Linked DNA regions of Homo sapiens: regions 2 and 3 are each linked to region 1. The links are contacts of gene promoters, found by promoter capture Hi-C in human tissues and cell types (Jung and others, 2019). All regions are on one chromosome and are shown on one strand. Each heading gives the region's core, a stretch centred on a gene start or on the middle of the fragment in contact. The rest is flanking DNA. Distances are from core to core; before and after follow the strand shown.

Region 1 (4,819 bases), core at 1,538-4,037:
CTCCCGGGTTCAAGCGATTCCCTTGCCTCAGCCTCCCAAGCAGCTGGGACTACAGGTGTGCGCCACCATGCCCAGCTAACTGTTGTATTTTTAATAGACAATTTCACGACGTTGGCGAGGCTGGTCTTGAACCCCTGACCTCAGGTGATCCACCCGCCTCAGCCTCTCAAAGCGCTGGGACAGGCGTGAGACACCGTGCTGGGACAGTAGTAACTTCTAATGGATAATGTATGCGTGGGGTGGAAAGGGGAGTACCAGTATTTTTATTTCAAACACATATACAAAACACCAGCTTGCAATTCACCCTGAAGAACCCTCAGCACAGAGCAGTTTCATAAGTCCATGCCATCGTGCCATATGCCTTCTTCACTGGCCACTTCGATTAGTGAGGAAAGAATCCAAAGAAGTTAAAATATAGTGGGCCGGGCACGGTGGCTCACACCTGTAATCCCAGCACTTTGGGAGGCCGAGGCGGGCAGATCACGAGGTCAGGAGATTGAGACCATCCTGCTCAAAATGGTGAAACCCCGTTTCTATTAAAAATACAAAAAAATTAGTTGAGAGTGGTGGCGCTCACCTGTAGTCCCAGCTACTCAGGAGGCTGAGGCAAGAGAATCGCTTGAACCCAGAAGGTGGAGGTTGCAGTGAGCCGAGATCGCACCCCTGCACTCCAGCCTGGCGACAGAGCGAGACTCCCTCTCAAAAAAAAAAAAAAATATATATATATATATATATATATATATTTATACATGTATATGTTATATATTTTATATATATACATGTATATGTTATATATTTTATATATATACATGTATGTTATATATTTTATATATATACATGTATATGTTATATATTTTATACATATACATATGTATATAGTGAAGAAAACAACTCTTACAGTGACAGTATCATGTTTGACGTCTGAGAGGTATGCCCTGTGAAGCACACAGGATAGCGGAGACATGTAGGTGGGCAATCCTGGGAGAAGGTACCCTTTTAACTAGGGTATGTAGTTAGGAGTTTGAGAAGTTAAGAAAGAGGAAGGGTTTTCGAGACAGAAAAGATAAGTAGGTTTACAAAACTAAGATGAAACTAGAAAGTGAAATCAAAACTTCATTCTATAATTTATCAGTAGAGAAAGCACAAACAATATTTTGCTTTAAAGTGGTTAAACGGCTCCTCAAAAGTATAACATAACCCAAAAACTTTAGGGAGTGGATTTAATTCTCAATATAATTCAAATTTCCTTGAAATTTTGTCAACTACTGTCTACCTTGCAAGAACTGAGTTTAACCAAGGCAACTGAACAGATGACCGACTCTACCACACTCATTTGCAAGATAAAGGAAAATAGCAAAAAAAAACCAAAAGTACAAGACATACATTGCAGATTTAGATCACTGTTAAATGACCAGAAAAGTATTTCCAATGTTAAAATTATTCTAATTCTCAAAAAGTACCTTTAATTTCAAAACCACTATTAGGAGTGCTTACGGCTATTCAGAGGGAAGTATTAATAAAGCTAAAGCCTCCATCCGAGCTGTTAGTAGGACTCCATCGCTTCCCAGTATGTATAACTCCTTTTCTAAGCCTCCTCTCGTCCTGGCATCAGTGGCACCATGAGCCAAAAACAAAACAAACAGAAAACTTGAGTATTACCTCGCTGTCAGTGCTCCTTCTAAAAACGACTGTAGCTGAAAACTCCCTAAGAATGAACTCGAGTGTAGAGTGCACAGCGGAGAGTGAAACACCCTAGACAGCACGCAGCATTTAAAGCTACAAAAACCTGGCTGTCCACTTCGCCTGGTTTGTTTTGTTTTGTTTCAATCGGCCTGCGGTGGCAGCATAGGTTGAAAGGCGGAGACTGGAATCGCCTGCCAAGCCTCCTCTTTGGGTCACACAGAGCGGTGCCTCCCGGTTCACGCCAAGTCCATCCCCCACCCTCTTTCGCCATTCATCGCGTTCCCCTCCCTTCCCCCCATCATGTGACCGCAGCCCGGACTCCGGGCTTGTTTTTCCCCTCGGCTCAGCCCCAGCGCGCAGGCGCCTGGGAGCCCATTCATTCGAACTGCGTAACAATGAGCCCCGGGGCCCAGCGGCTCCGCGAGCTCCTCAGCTCAGCCAGAATCCCCCTCAGTCCAGAAGGAGGCGGCGCCTCACTGGGGTCCCCCACCTCCGGCCAGCCCCCCACCCCTGGCCAAGCTCCGACCCTCCGCCCACAAACGGGGAGTTGAAGTCAAACTTTCCTGGGCAGCCCCGGCGCTGCGTCGGCCCCTTCCCCCGCCCTGGCCCGCCCCATCTCCACACCCGGCCCGGCCACCCACCGCGCGACCTGGCCCGGAACTTCGCCCTCCCCCTGCCTCCTCCCGGCCCCCGCCCGAGACCCCCTAGCGCCGCCGCCCCGAAGCCCAGGTGAGCTCGCGGGAGACGCTGCTCCGGTGGGCTCGCCGCGGGCACCAATCGAACGGTTAACTGCCCCCACCCCAAGGGCAACCCTCCGAGAAGAAGGAACGAGGACCCGAGCCCTCCAGTCTGCCCAATCCCCCGCGCTCCTGCCCCTCCCTTCCCCACCCCCACCTCTTCCCTAACTGAAAGACAACAAACCTGCCGCGAAGTGCCGGCAGCCCAGGCGCGGGCCGCTCCGGCCACGACAACACCACCAGCAGCTCTCGTACCCCCTCTCCGACCGACGTCGGCCTCCCCCGCGCGGGTTACTGCTCCCGCGGCAGCTCTTACTCCTCAACCGAAACTTTCCTACTTACCAAACCCGTCGCCATTACCAAGTCTTTCAAGCTTCGTCTTCCCCCTCCCCTCAACCCCCTGGGGGTTGAGCCCCGCCCAGCTCTTTCGCCCTCTTATTGGACTGCAGAACTGCCATTCGGTTCTTCCCCTTTCCCATTGGGTGGTACCGTGGTCCGTCTCGGGGGGCGGGCATGTATTGACTTTTGTGTTGTGTTTACTGGAGAAGATGGCATGTCAATCACAAGAGTAAGTGCTTCGGATTGGACTATTGCCGAGAGTCCGGGGACCCAAGCCAAACTTTGTCCCCGAAATGGATTGTGGGTTCGTAGTCTCAAGCCTTGGTCCTTGGCTGTGGGAGACTGCTGGCCGGGGAAGAGCTGGACTACGTATCCCAGAGGCGCTCGCACAGCGCAGTCTTGATAGTAAACAAGAGTCATAGGGACACGTGTATCAGCTCGTTTGTTTTGGTGTCTGGGACAAAAGGGAGGGGGCGGAGGAAGGGAGTGTTTTAAAGCTTGGGCCTCTTCTTTTCCTCCGGGCCTCTGCTAACACTTAGAGCGGCCCAAGCCTCTTGCAGCACCCAATCCGGGCCATAAACAGCCAGAGTTGCTCGCTGCTCAAGAGTTTGGCAGGAGGCCAGGGTATTGTTTTAGTGCGAGGGGAAGGAGATGACTGCACCAGCGGAAGTACTGCAGGCTAGCGAGGGACTTGATCACCCACAAATCACGGCCCCAGGCACGAAGGGGTCGAAAGTGATGCTGGGGGCTGCACTGGCAGTGGGAAGAACTAGAAGTCCTTTCTCTTGTGCCTTGCCTCACCACTCCCAGGACAGCAACTTGAGATTGCCTTGTCAGCTCTGTTCAGTTCACCTAAGTTTGTTGAGCCGCCACCTAAGTGCCAGGAAGAGTGAGGCTGGGGGATGGACTGTGAGCAAGCGAGAAGCTGGAGTCTAGAGAATTTACAAAGCGGGGGCGGGGGCGGGCGATTACGAAATTGAGGCAAGTTAAAGCGGCATTTTCCATACTGATTAGTATGCTCGTTGGTTAACGTAATACAAAGGGTGTAATGTATGACGTAAACTGATTTAATTTGTGAATCATTATCAGTAAGTTTCTCTGGTGAGTTTTATTAACCCTCTTTTCCTTCTAGACGTTTTCTCATTGATGAAAGAAACTGTCTTTCCACTTCATTTCCACTAGGAGTTCCTCAAGTTACGAATTCTCTGACTCACCAGAGACGCTTCCCTGCTTTATAGTTAACTTCTCTTTAAACATGGCTGTCCATTCACAGTCGGCTGCATCTAGTCAATAATTGGTGTCTTTACCATTCACATTACAAAGGCATGATTAAGCTTTTTCCCCCCTTTGAACCTTTAGTGTTTAATCATTTAAATTGTGCTTTAGATTTTCTAACTTTAGATCACTAAATATATGCTTAGAATTAAGATGAGGAAAACCTACATTAGTAAGAAATCTGTAAAAGCAAACCTTTGGACAGAGCCAGAAATCACACAGCTAGTTATTTCTTTAAAACCTCCTGCATTTCTTGGATTTTTAAATATACCTGAAAGCCGCGTAACAAATCAAGAAATCCAAAATAAGCCCCCACATGTTGAAATCGAGTTTAAAATTCTTGAGAATTCCCCATTTGAATCCGTGAAGTGAAATTATAAAGTAGTCCTCCCGTGTAATCAAATACTTACTTTCTATGTTCACAAATAGTAATAAAGCATTCTATTTTTTATTAAAATAATTCAGAGGAGAGCCAACAGAATGCTTAATTTTTTCCCTGAGGAAAAAGGACAGGATTTGAATTTATCATCTTTCAGAAATTATTAGTGACTCAAAGAAATGAATGTCTCTGCTACTTTGTGTATGCTTTTTTTTTTTTTTTTTTTTTTTACAATGGAGGGTCATCGTGTACTAGAATAGAAAATATAAACTCTACTCCAACATGTAATTTCTTGACAAAAAAGAAAAATCTGTGAAGTTCACCTAATTATTTAAAATTGTTTTGAGATATTTATGTCTAACTCCTCCTAGAAAACTAAAAAACTTTTCTCTTAAAAAAAAAAAAA
Region 2 (4,819 bases), core at 1,495-3,994, 710 kb before region 1:
TAGAAAGTCCTATTTTATTATTAGAATTATTAGTCCTATTTTATTATTAGAAGTCTCATTTGCCTATTTTATAGGCAAGGAAACAGAAGCCCAGAGAATTTAAATAGCATATCTAAGGTCACGTAGCCAGAAGTCCACTTAATCTGCCCCAATCTTTCCTCAGTTATATACTACATCACCAGACACAGTACTAATTGGCAGAGAATAGTGTCCCTGACTCTTCCTTTTTACTACCTCATATTCTTATTGTGGAAGACTTCATCCCTGGCATTCCCCTGTCCTGATTATGTAACCCAGGTTTCCTGGAATTGAATTCTCCCCTTCATTATGGAAAAAATCAGCCCAAATGGATTTCAGAGTTATTGCCATACAACTCACAGCTCTGGGTTTTGTTTAGGGAATAACTGTAATTCACTTCCTAATCATCTTTTTCCTGAGAAATTTCATTTTCTTAGATGGTGCTTAAACAACAACAAAATTGTGTCAAAATGCTAATCTAATTAATTGTGGTTGATTGAGTAGATAATAATGAGTCATAGTGTTAACAGTATCTAAGTGAGCAGAGTTTTAGAATCAAAAGGCACCAGCACCTTCTGCCCAGAAGAGGGCAACGTTCTCTCATTATGCTATCTGCAAAAGCTGGGAACTCCAAAAAGGAAATGTATATACTGTGGTAGGAACCGAAGGATTTACCATTAACGCTTCAAAATGATTCTAAATACAAAGTTATTAGGCCATGATGTGCCATACTCAATAATCAACAATTACCAAGTGTTTGTTGAGTGTTTGTTGGATATAAAATATTGCACAGGACACTGAAGGAAACACAAAAAAGTTATCAGCACATCTCCCTGATTTTATAAAGCTCATGATTTAGTTGAGGATATCAGGCATCTATGCAAGCAGTAAAGAAATATCGGCCAGGCATGGTGGCTCACATCTGTAATCCCAGCACTTTGGGAGGCCAAGGCGGGTGGATCACGATGTCAGGGGTTCAAGACCAGCCTGACCAACATGGTGAAACCCCATCTCTATTAAAAATACAAAAATTAGCTGGGCATGGTGGCATGCACCTGTAATCCCACCTACTCAGGAGGCTGAGGTAGGAGAATCGCTTGAACCCAGGAAGCAGAGGTTGCAGTGAACCAAGATCATGCCACTGCACTCCAGTGTGGGTGACAGAGCAAGACTTGGTCTCAAAAAAAAAAAAAAAAGAAAAGAAAAGAAAAGAAATATCAGACAACATGCCATCCTGGGCTGGATTTCCGTTCACACACGCCCCTTTCCACCTTTCTCCTCAAACCAGCAGTAGACATATGACTCACTCCTTTGCCTCCTTGAAGTCCTTATTCAAAAGTTACTTTCTCAGTGAAATCTGTCCTTACCACTCTAATGAAAATCGCAACACAACCCATTTCTGCCCTGCACTGTCATTCTCCTTGACCTGGCTTTTTTTTTTCCACAGCATTTATCATCTTCTAACATTCTATATAATTACTTTGTTGTGTTTGTTTTATAACATTTTCTCCTGCCAGTAGAATCTAAGCTACACAAGTACTAAGATTTCCATCTGTTTTGTTCAGATACATCCCCGGAGCCTGGAACAATGCCTTGCATGTAATAGGGACTCAAAAAAAATTGTTCAATGAATGAAAGTCAGTAGGAAAGATAAGTGCTGCAGGAATTTGGAGGTGGGGAGATGGTAAGTAAGGGGCCAGGGACCTGGGGGATGTCTTTGTGCAAGACGTAATTACTGAAATTGGATTTTGAAAGGTGGGTAGGATTTTGATAGAGGGAGATGAAAAGTCAGGGAGAATGTGACTCCTGAGGCCTAGAGACATCTGGGCAAAGAGGAATAAAGGACAAAGGCATAATAATTTACCAAGTAGTACAGGGAAAAGGGTATGGGCTTTAGGGTAATGCCTAGGGGTTTGAATCTCATTGTGCAATTCCTTTGTGCCCTTGGACAAATTTGCTGACCTCTCAATTATTTCCTCCCCTGTGAAATTGAGATAATACTTTCATCGAAGACTGTTGGGACAATTAGAGAAAACTTGTAAATAATCCACCTGGTTCACAGTATGTCCTTAAAAAGGTAAATTATTATACTGCTATAACCCACTGAACACTTATCAAGCAGGTTTGTTGAATTAACTTTTTTTTTTTAGCCCGGTCTCATGCCCATTGCCCAGGCTGAAGTACAGTGGTGTAATCACAGCTCACTGCAGCCTTGACATCCCAGGCCCACGTGATTCTCCCACCTCAGCCTCTCGAGTAGCTGGTAGCTGAGACTACAGGTATGCACCAATGTGCCCAGCTAATTTTTTGTATTTTTAGTAGAGACTGGGTTTCACCATGTTGCCCGGATTGGTCTCAAACTCCTGGGCTCAAGCTATCTGCCTGCTTCAGCCTCCCAAAAGAATTCACTTTCAGAGTACATTTTGAGTCACTTGAGTCTCTACAGGTATTCTATAGTGAATCTTCCATAAAATGGATTAAAGTAGTTGCCATGAAATATGAGTCTTTAATGAGCTCTAAGAGCAAGTATTAATTGCACTTTACATTTTATAGAATTCTGTCACAGACATTACCAGTACTGGTCTACATAGTAGTAATCCTGACATCGATATTATTATTATCATTACTTCTGATAATAAAGCATGAAACTACTGCTTTAATATGATTGAGTTGCTGGTCGAAGCTTACAAGTCTGACAAGTGATTAAGACAGAACTCATATTCAGAATTTCTGATCCCAAGTCCCTCACTCTTTTTATAAAATGACTCTCTGCCTCTAACCATTTTTACGGGACTTGAACCAACACAATTATACTGTTGATCTGTTCAATCAATTGAAAAAAATCTAAATGCCTCTGAAACCCATAGATGCCTTCTCGCTTCCTTTCTCTCTCTAACTGAGACTGAGATAAGAGGAACGGGAGAACTGGAGTGTATCTCTTAAAGGCCACTTTCTGCCAGCTTATGAAGGATTTCCTCTCCATGGTCTTTGTTCTCACAGAATTTAAACCCCTTCAGGTGGAAATGGTACTTGAGGGAAAATACTTATCTCTTTCAACACATTTCATTTAATATTTCAAGTTAAGAAAGAATTAAGAAACAAAACAAGAAGTGAAATGACCCAAACACTCAAGATCTGTGAATAAATCCACATTGAAGTGGAAAAGTTATTGCTATATCCAAGGATTAAAAGAGCATGAAATAATGTAGGAGAAAATTGTGGTAGGGCATTAGAAAATCTATTAGGCAGAGAGGAACTGGAGTTTGCTCTTCACATGACAGGGTATAAAGAGGTACATACGGGCGGGTTTAAGAATGAACTAGATGTGGCCAGGCACGGTGGCTCACGCTTGTAATTCCAGTACTTTGGGAAGCTGAGGGGGGTGGATCACGAGGTCAGGAGTTCAAGACCAGCCAGGCCAACATAGTGAAACCCCGTCTCTACTAAAAATACAAAGATTAGCTGGGTGTGGTGGTATGCACCTGTAATCCCAGCTACTCGGGAGGCTGAGACAGGAGAATTGCTTGAATCCGGGAGGCAGAGGTTACAGTGAGCTGAGATTGCACCACTGCACTCCAGCCTGGGTGACAGAGCAAGACTCCATCTCAAAAAAAAAAAAAAAAAAAAAAAAAAGAATCAACTAGATGTAATGGGATTAGATGAAGTTTGAATGCAAGAGCTGTAACTACCATACAAATATAGCTATCCCTACCAATACTATTACGGATGGGTTCTCTGATATGCTATAACAAAGAACATAATTATTATCTGCCACAGATGGGATATTTCTTTGATTCCTATCCACAAACGAAGTAGGTATTTCTTATTTATTTACTTAAGTCAAGAAGATAGATGCTGAAAGACATAATCTCTACAATTCTTCCTTTCTGCATCTCTTAGAGAATTGCCAATTTTTGCTATGCCAACAGTGATACACTTCATCATGATTTTTCTGACAAAATCACCTTTAGCATGTTAAGCTAAAACGTGTTCCCATCTAATTTTTTTCTGGAGGCATGTGAAGTCAATTCTTTTAAGTTCATCTTTTAAGTTGTTCTCCCCAAGATGACAAAATTCTATCCCATGGTAGCAATTAATCAACAAATCAACATGTAGTACCCACAGTATGTCCAGCATTATACATGCTGCTGTGAAGAATATAAAAACATATTGTTCTTTTTTTTTTTAATTTTTTTTTTTTTTTTTTCTGAGATGGAGTCTTGCTCTGTCACCCAGGCTGGAGTGCAGTGATATAATCTCGGCTCACTGCAACTTCCGCCTCCTGGGTTTAAGCAATTTCCTGCCTCAGCCTCCCAAGTAGCTGGGACTACAGGCAGGCACGCACCACAGCACCCGGCTAATTTTTGTATTTTTGGTAGAGACGGGATTTCACTATGATGGCCAGGCTGGTCTTGAACTCCTGACCTCAGGTGATCCGCCCTCCTCGGCCTCCCAAAGTACTGGGATTACAGGCGTGAGCCATTGCGCCTGGCAATTTTGTTTGTTTGCTTAAATTTTATGGAAAATTTCAAACATACACAAAACAAAGTAGCATAATAAACCTTCATAAATCCTTCACTGAGTTTAAACCATGATCAGATTATAGCCAATATTGCTTTACTGCTCACTTCCCTTCCATTTTATTTTGAGACAAATCCCAGTAGTCATATAATTTCACCTATAACTAGTTCAGTGTGTATCTGTAAAGGATAAGGATTTTTTTAATATAAGGATTTAAAAAAAACAAAATAAAATTTAATTCCATAATGTTATCAAATTTCCAGTCACTGTTCAAATTTCC
Region 3 (4,819 bases), core at 1-2,500, 530 kb before region 1:
CACAGTCAACAGTCCAAATATAAGGCCAGCTAGTAAACCGAGATCCAGCCCCAGAATGATGGACACTATACACGTAAACACCCAGATAACCTAGGGAAAAAAATAGAAATGAAAAGAATTATATTAATGTATCAGGTACCATCATGTGATAACTACCTATAAAAATAAGATCAATGATCCACAAACAAATTACATTTTTTTTTTTCTTTTGAGATAGGGTCACACTCTATTGCCCAGGCTGGAGTGCAGTGGCACCATGATAGTTCACTGCAGCCTCCATCTTCTGGATTCAAGTGATCCTCCCGCCTCAGCCTCCCAAGTAGCTGGGACTACCCACAAGTACATACCACCAAACCCGGCTAATTTTTAATCTTTTATTTGTAGTAGAGACAAGGTCTCACTGTGTTACGCAGGCTGGTCTCAAATTCCTGAGCTCAAGTGATCCTCCTGCCTCCCAAATTGCTGGGATTACAGGCCTGAGCCACTGTGCCTGGCCAAATCACAGCTTTTTAAAAATATTGTGACTTCATTCATTTTATATTTAAGTAGCTGTAGAAACTGGGCTTCTCAATTAAGACCAACTGTCCCATTTTATTTATTTCTAAATTTTTGAATAGCTAATATATTTGTATGGTTCATAAGGGAATTATCATTAAAAAGGGGAAAACTCTTGCTCACAACCCTCCCCCTTCTCCACCCATTCCCAACTTCCCTCCCTCCTTGTATCCGCTTTTATTTCTGCCTGTGTCTGTGCTTTTCCCCAGCATTTCTATTCTGGTCTCTTTTTCACTTAACGATTTGTCTTGGAAAATTTTCCATATCAATATGTAGGAAGTCTTCTCATTCTTTTTATGGTTTAAATTAGAGAGGAACTCTGAAGGATTTAGCTTCTGATTTTTAGTTTCTCAGAATAGTTGCAAAGGTTATGTTAGTCAGAGTTAAAGTCAGCGTGGGTTTTTACATTTTGTATTTTGTTTTTGCATTGTTTTGTATGTTGTTTGTCCTTCTAAACTAGGGTGTTTAAACATTTTTTTGCTTTTTGTGTTTAGAAGGCCAAAGGTGTATGAATGAGCCTCATATGGGATTCTTGCTGGAAATTGACCTTCCCAGAGATACAGAATCTTCACAAAATGCAGTTCACATGGAAGACTTCATGGCTTTGATTTATCCCCACAATTCTAATTTCTCCTCTGGAGTTCCCAAAGCACAAGTGAGACTTAGGGGATGGGGGGAATATAGTGATATGGCAGGAAGCATATAAGAACCAAATCTTATTTCAGATAAATATAGGTGGTAGGTGACTTACAGCATCAATCTTATTCTGTCTCCACAGACGAGGAATGTCACACAGCTGCATAAACATCCCTTTCAGGTTGGCAATTACAACAGCTGCCAAGACCGACTGCCAAGAGAGACAGAGAAGGCTGTGTTATTCAGGGAATGGTTTTCCATGTGATGATTGTTAAATCTCCTGTTATTTATCTGGTAGCAGAGTAGTGAAGGGAAATTATGCAATCGGTATGCAGAGAAGCAGGGTTATACCTTCTGCAAGGGTTCCAGAAGCTTCCCCAGGGCAAGAATGGCGATCATCACAATCGCAGCAGAGATGATGCCAGCAACCTGGAAGACACACACCTCCTATGAAAAGGATTCGTCCTTCTCCCTTGTGTCTTCCAGCTCACTGGATGTGTGTATGAGACAGCCTGTTCACAGACACACTTCATACTTCCCTGTCTCCCCCTTCTGCTCAATACTGTCGAGAAAAGTGATAGTTATTTGCTCAAGCCACAAAACTGAACAAAAATGGCATCTATATATGCTATGGCAGAGAAGTTAAAGAAAATATGGGGACTGATCCTATGAAATTAAAGCCAGTTTGACAGGGATTTTATTTGGTGATAGTACACACCTGCGGTTTCGGCGTCCATTCAGGCCAAGCTTCTAGTTATTTACCATGGCAGGAAACATGGACCAATCCCCCCTTTCCCAACAACAGAGATCATTGTCGTATTCTTGGGAAATAAATTCTCATGGCACATAGCTGATTTTTCTGCATTATTGAAGCTGCAGCTATAATAGCAACTCTGATAACACTTCGTACTTGTAGCACATGGTCTCATTAAAGTCTCAGAGAAAATAAATTTACTCATCCTATTGCAAATTCGAAATGCCACATTTGCACATTGAGAGGTGGGATTGTGTCTCCTGCCTCCTCTGACAGTTCCACGGAGGCAGGCTCAGAGCTTTGCCCCAAGGCAGCCTGAAACAGTGACTATGGAGTAACGGGGCAATAGCAGGGGTAAAAGGAAGCTTCAGAAACTTTACCTTCGCTGGCAAAAATAGCTCTCCTAAGATCCATACTAGTTAGGAGAGAGGCTGAGGGGGTGGGGACTACTCTCTCGTTTGATTAGATGACCAATGAATTCTCTGTTGAGACAGCTGGGGCAGAGCCAAGATGAAGATTAGAAGCTCTGAAACAAAGAAGAAAAGGAGACAGGGAACTACAAGCAAAGCAATCAGAGAGGAAACAACTGGGAAGATTTTGTTGAGCACAAGTACTGTCTAGTGCAAAAGGTCTGAGTTACGGGAGACAGACACAGCAAATATAAACAGAAAATTAGAAAGCACTTGCTCTACCTGGCAAATTGATCATTTATATTTAGATTATAGTTGGGTCAGCCTGAGGCAATATGATGTGTATGAGGTACTAAAAAGCGTGCTTTGTATGTCTGGCTGGCTTTTCTATGCTCTTCCTATCCCCATCCTAGATTCCCAGTACCCTGGTGCTCTTTCCCTTCTCCTGACTAAGCAGAGAAGCTGATATCCTACTTCCCTCCCTTCTCTTCGCTTTCCTTCATATCCCTTCCCTTCCTCTCCCTTGTCCTTCCTTCCATTTTCTTCTTTCTTTCCTTCCCTTATCCCTCCCTTCCTTCCTTGCATGCAATTACTCAACCAGTATTTACCGAGCCACTTGCATCTCACTGTGGATGGGGAGCTCTGTGAACTGGAGAAAGATATGGAGATTTGGGGACAAGGACCACAGTCAGCTGCCAAACTCATGCCAGGAGAGTGGCCACCTACTTGCCAATTATATGTCATAATGAGTCTCCAATTATGGGAGGCCAAGGCTCATTTTGGCCACTATATTAAAATTGGTGAGTGATCAATTATTTCTACTTACTTGATAAGGCTTGTTTGTGAGAAACTCTGTAGACTTTATATCTACAACCAGATTCAGTTACTAAAAAATTATTCTGTTAAGGGAGGGGGTAATCAGAGCTAAAGAGTGGTTTGTAATCAGAATTACTTTTCTGTGAGTCAGTGGAAGTCAGATGGGGGTGAGGGAAAGAAAAGGTTCCAATGTTTAATTCTTCTACAATCTGTAGATGTGCTAAAAACAGTTCGTGTCCACCAATACTCATTCTTCCATTCATTCATTCAGCAAATATATGCCAGGTGCTTCTTATGTGCCAGGCACAATATATGTATCATAGATGCTAAGATGCTATTCTTGCCTAAAGGAGTGAAACAATGAGCATTTACAAGTATGTGCTAAGGCTTTACATTTTCTTGCCTAATCCTCACAATATCCCTGTGAAATGGATGCAATTATCATTTCCATTTTGTAGATGCTGAAACTGAAGTTCCAACATAAGAGAAAACACGAGAAGCCACACAAGAGAAGCCCTGCCAGTTTATTTGTCCATCAGTCCCTGGATTTCAGTTCAGGCACTTAGACTTTTAACCCCAGAATTTAGTATACATTTCAATAATTAAACATGAAGCCATTTCTTTACTCGTTTCATTCTTTAATGCTGAAATCCTGGCATCCTTCATTCCTAAATATAATACATGCCAGTATGTGGCAGGGGGTATTAGCTTACCAGAGCACCATTATCCCCCAAACCCTGTGCCAAGGAGGTCACTTTACATGGGCATACTTACTGGGACAGCCAGCCCATGCCTCATTTGAGCCTGGAGGTAACATCAGGAGAATGGACATCAGCAGTTTGAGATTTGCCTGCACCCGCTGAAGACCATGTGCTCTGGAGAGCTTGTCAGTGCTCCGTCTCAAATGAAAGCAGCAGAAGTTCCTGCTGCTGACAGCTGCAGCCTGAAATGTGCACAGCTTTGGAAATTGGCTCTGACCTCTTCCCCTTGACCACAGATCTCTGGCTATGCCTCCGGATATGAGCTGTATTATTTTACCTGCTCCCTCAGAGCTGGAAATATTTGCAAAAAAAATAAAAAATTAAGAAAAATTCTGAAAATAAAATTTTTTGTTGAAAAGCAGCCAAAAAACTGGAAGAGGCCAATTCTTCCAAGTCTGTCACAAGATCCATTATAAATAGGAAAGGAGCATCACATGCATATTGGGGACAATTAAAGCCCTCCCTGGGCAAGTCACTGTTGGAGTCATTAGTTTTTTCAGTTATTCTCGTATATATATATGAGAATATATATATATATATATGTTTGTGTGTGTGTGTGTGTGTGTGTGTGTGTGTATATATATATTTGACACAGAGTCTAGCTCTTGTCGCCCAGGCTGGAATGTAGTGGCACGATATTGGCTCACTGCAACCTCCACCTCCCAGGTTCAAGTGATTCTCCTGCCTCAGCCTCCCAAGTAGCTGGGATTACAGGCATCTACCACCACACCTGGCTAATTTTTGCATTTTTAGTAGAGAAGGGGTTTCACCATGTTGGCCATGTTAGTCTCGAACTCCTGACCTCAATTGATCCGCCCACCTCAGCCTCCCAAAGTGCTGGGATTACAAGCATGAGCCACTGTGCCCGACTTATATTTATTTTTTAA

What was found. The method cuts DNA at HindIII sites, captures the fragments that hold promoters and counts their contacts. A contact is called where the count stands out against the background at its distance.
Region 2: a fragment that was not itself captured here is called in contact with the fragment with the promoter of HBP1 in region 1 in 1 of the 25 tissues and cell types used here (dorsolateral prefrontal cortex).
Region 3: a contact is called between a fragment that was not itself captured here and the fragment with the promoter of HBP1 in region 1, in 1 of the 25 tissues and cell types used here (dorsolateral prefrontal cortex).

What each region holds. Positions count from the first base shown.
Region 1 is chr7:107,166,971-107,171,789 of GRCh38, reverse strand. It overlaps HBP1 (HMG-box transcription factor 1), which reads right to left and starts at 2,787. Exons shown (of 11, transcript NM_012257.4): 1 at 2,605-2,787. RefSeq lists silencers at 2,088-2,307, 2,568-2,667, 2,686-3,259 and an enhancer at 2,978-3,137. The HindIII fragment of the contact is 2,484 bases long and covers 1,192-3,675 here.
Region 2 is chr7:107,875,344-107,880,162 of GRCh38, reverse strand. No RefSeq gene overlaps it. Among named protein-coding and RNA genes, the nearest start is that of DLD, 13 kb to the left of the region's middle. The HindIII fragment of the contact is 5,699 bases long and covers 1-4,819 here.
Region 3 is chr7:107,691,204-107,696,022 of GRCh38, reverse strand. SLC26A4 (solute carrier family 26 member 4) reads right to left here. Exons shown (of 21, transcript NM_000441.2): 11 at 1,543-1,620; 12 at 1,307-1,402; 13 at 1-90. Among named protein-coding and RNA genes, the nearest start is that of SLC26A4-AS1, 32 kb to the right of the region's middle. The HindIII fragment of the contact is 5,968 bases long and covers 1-4,234 here.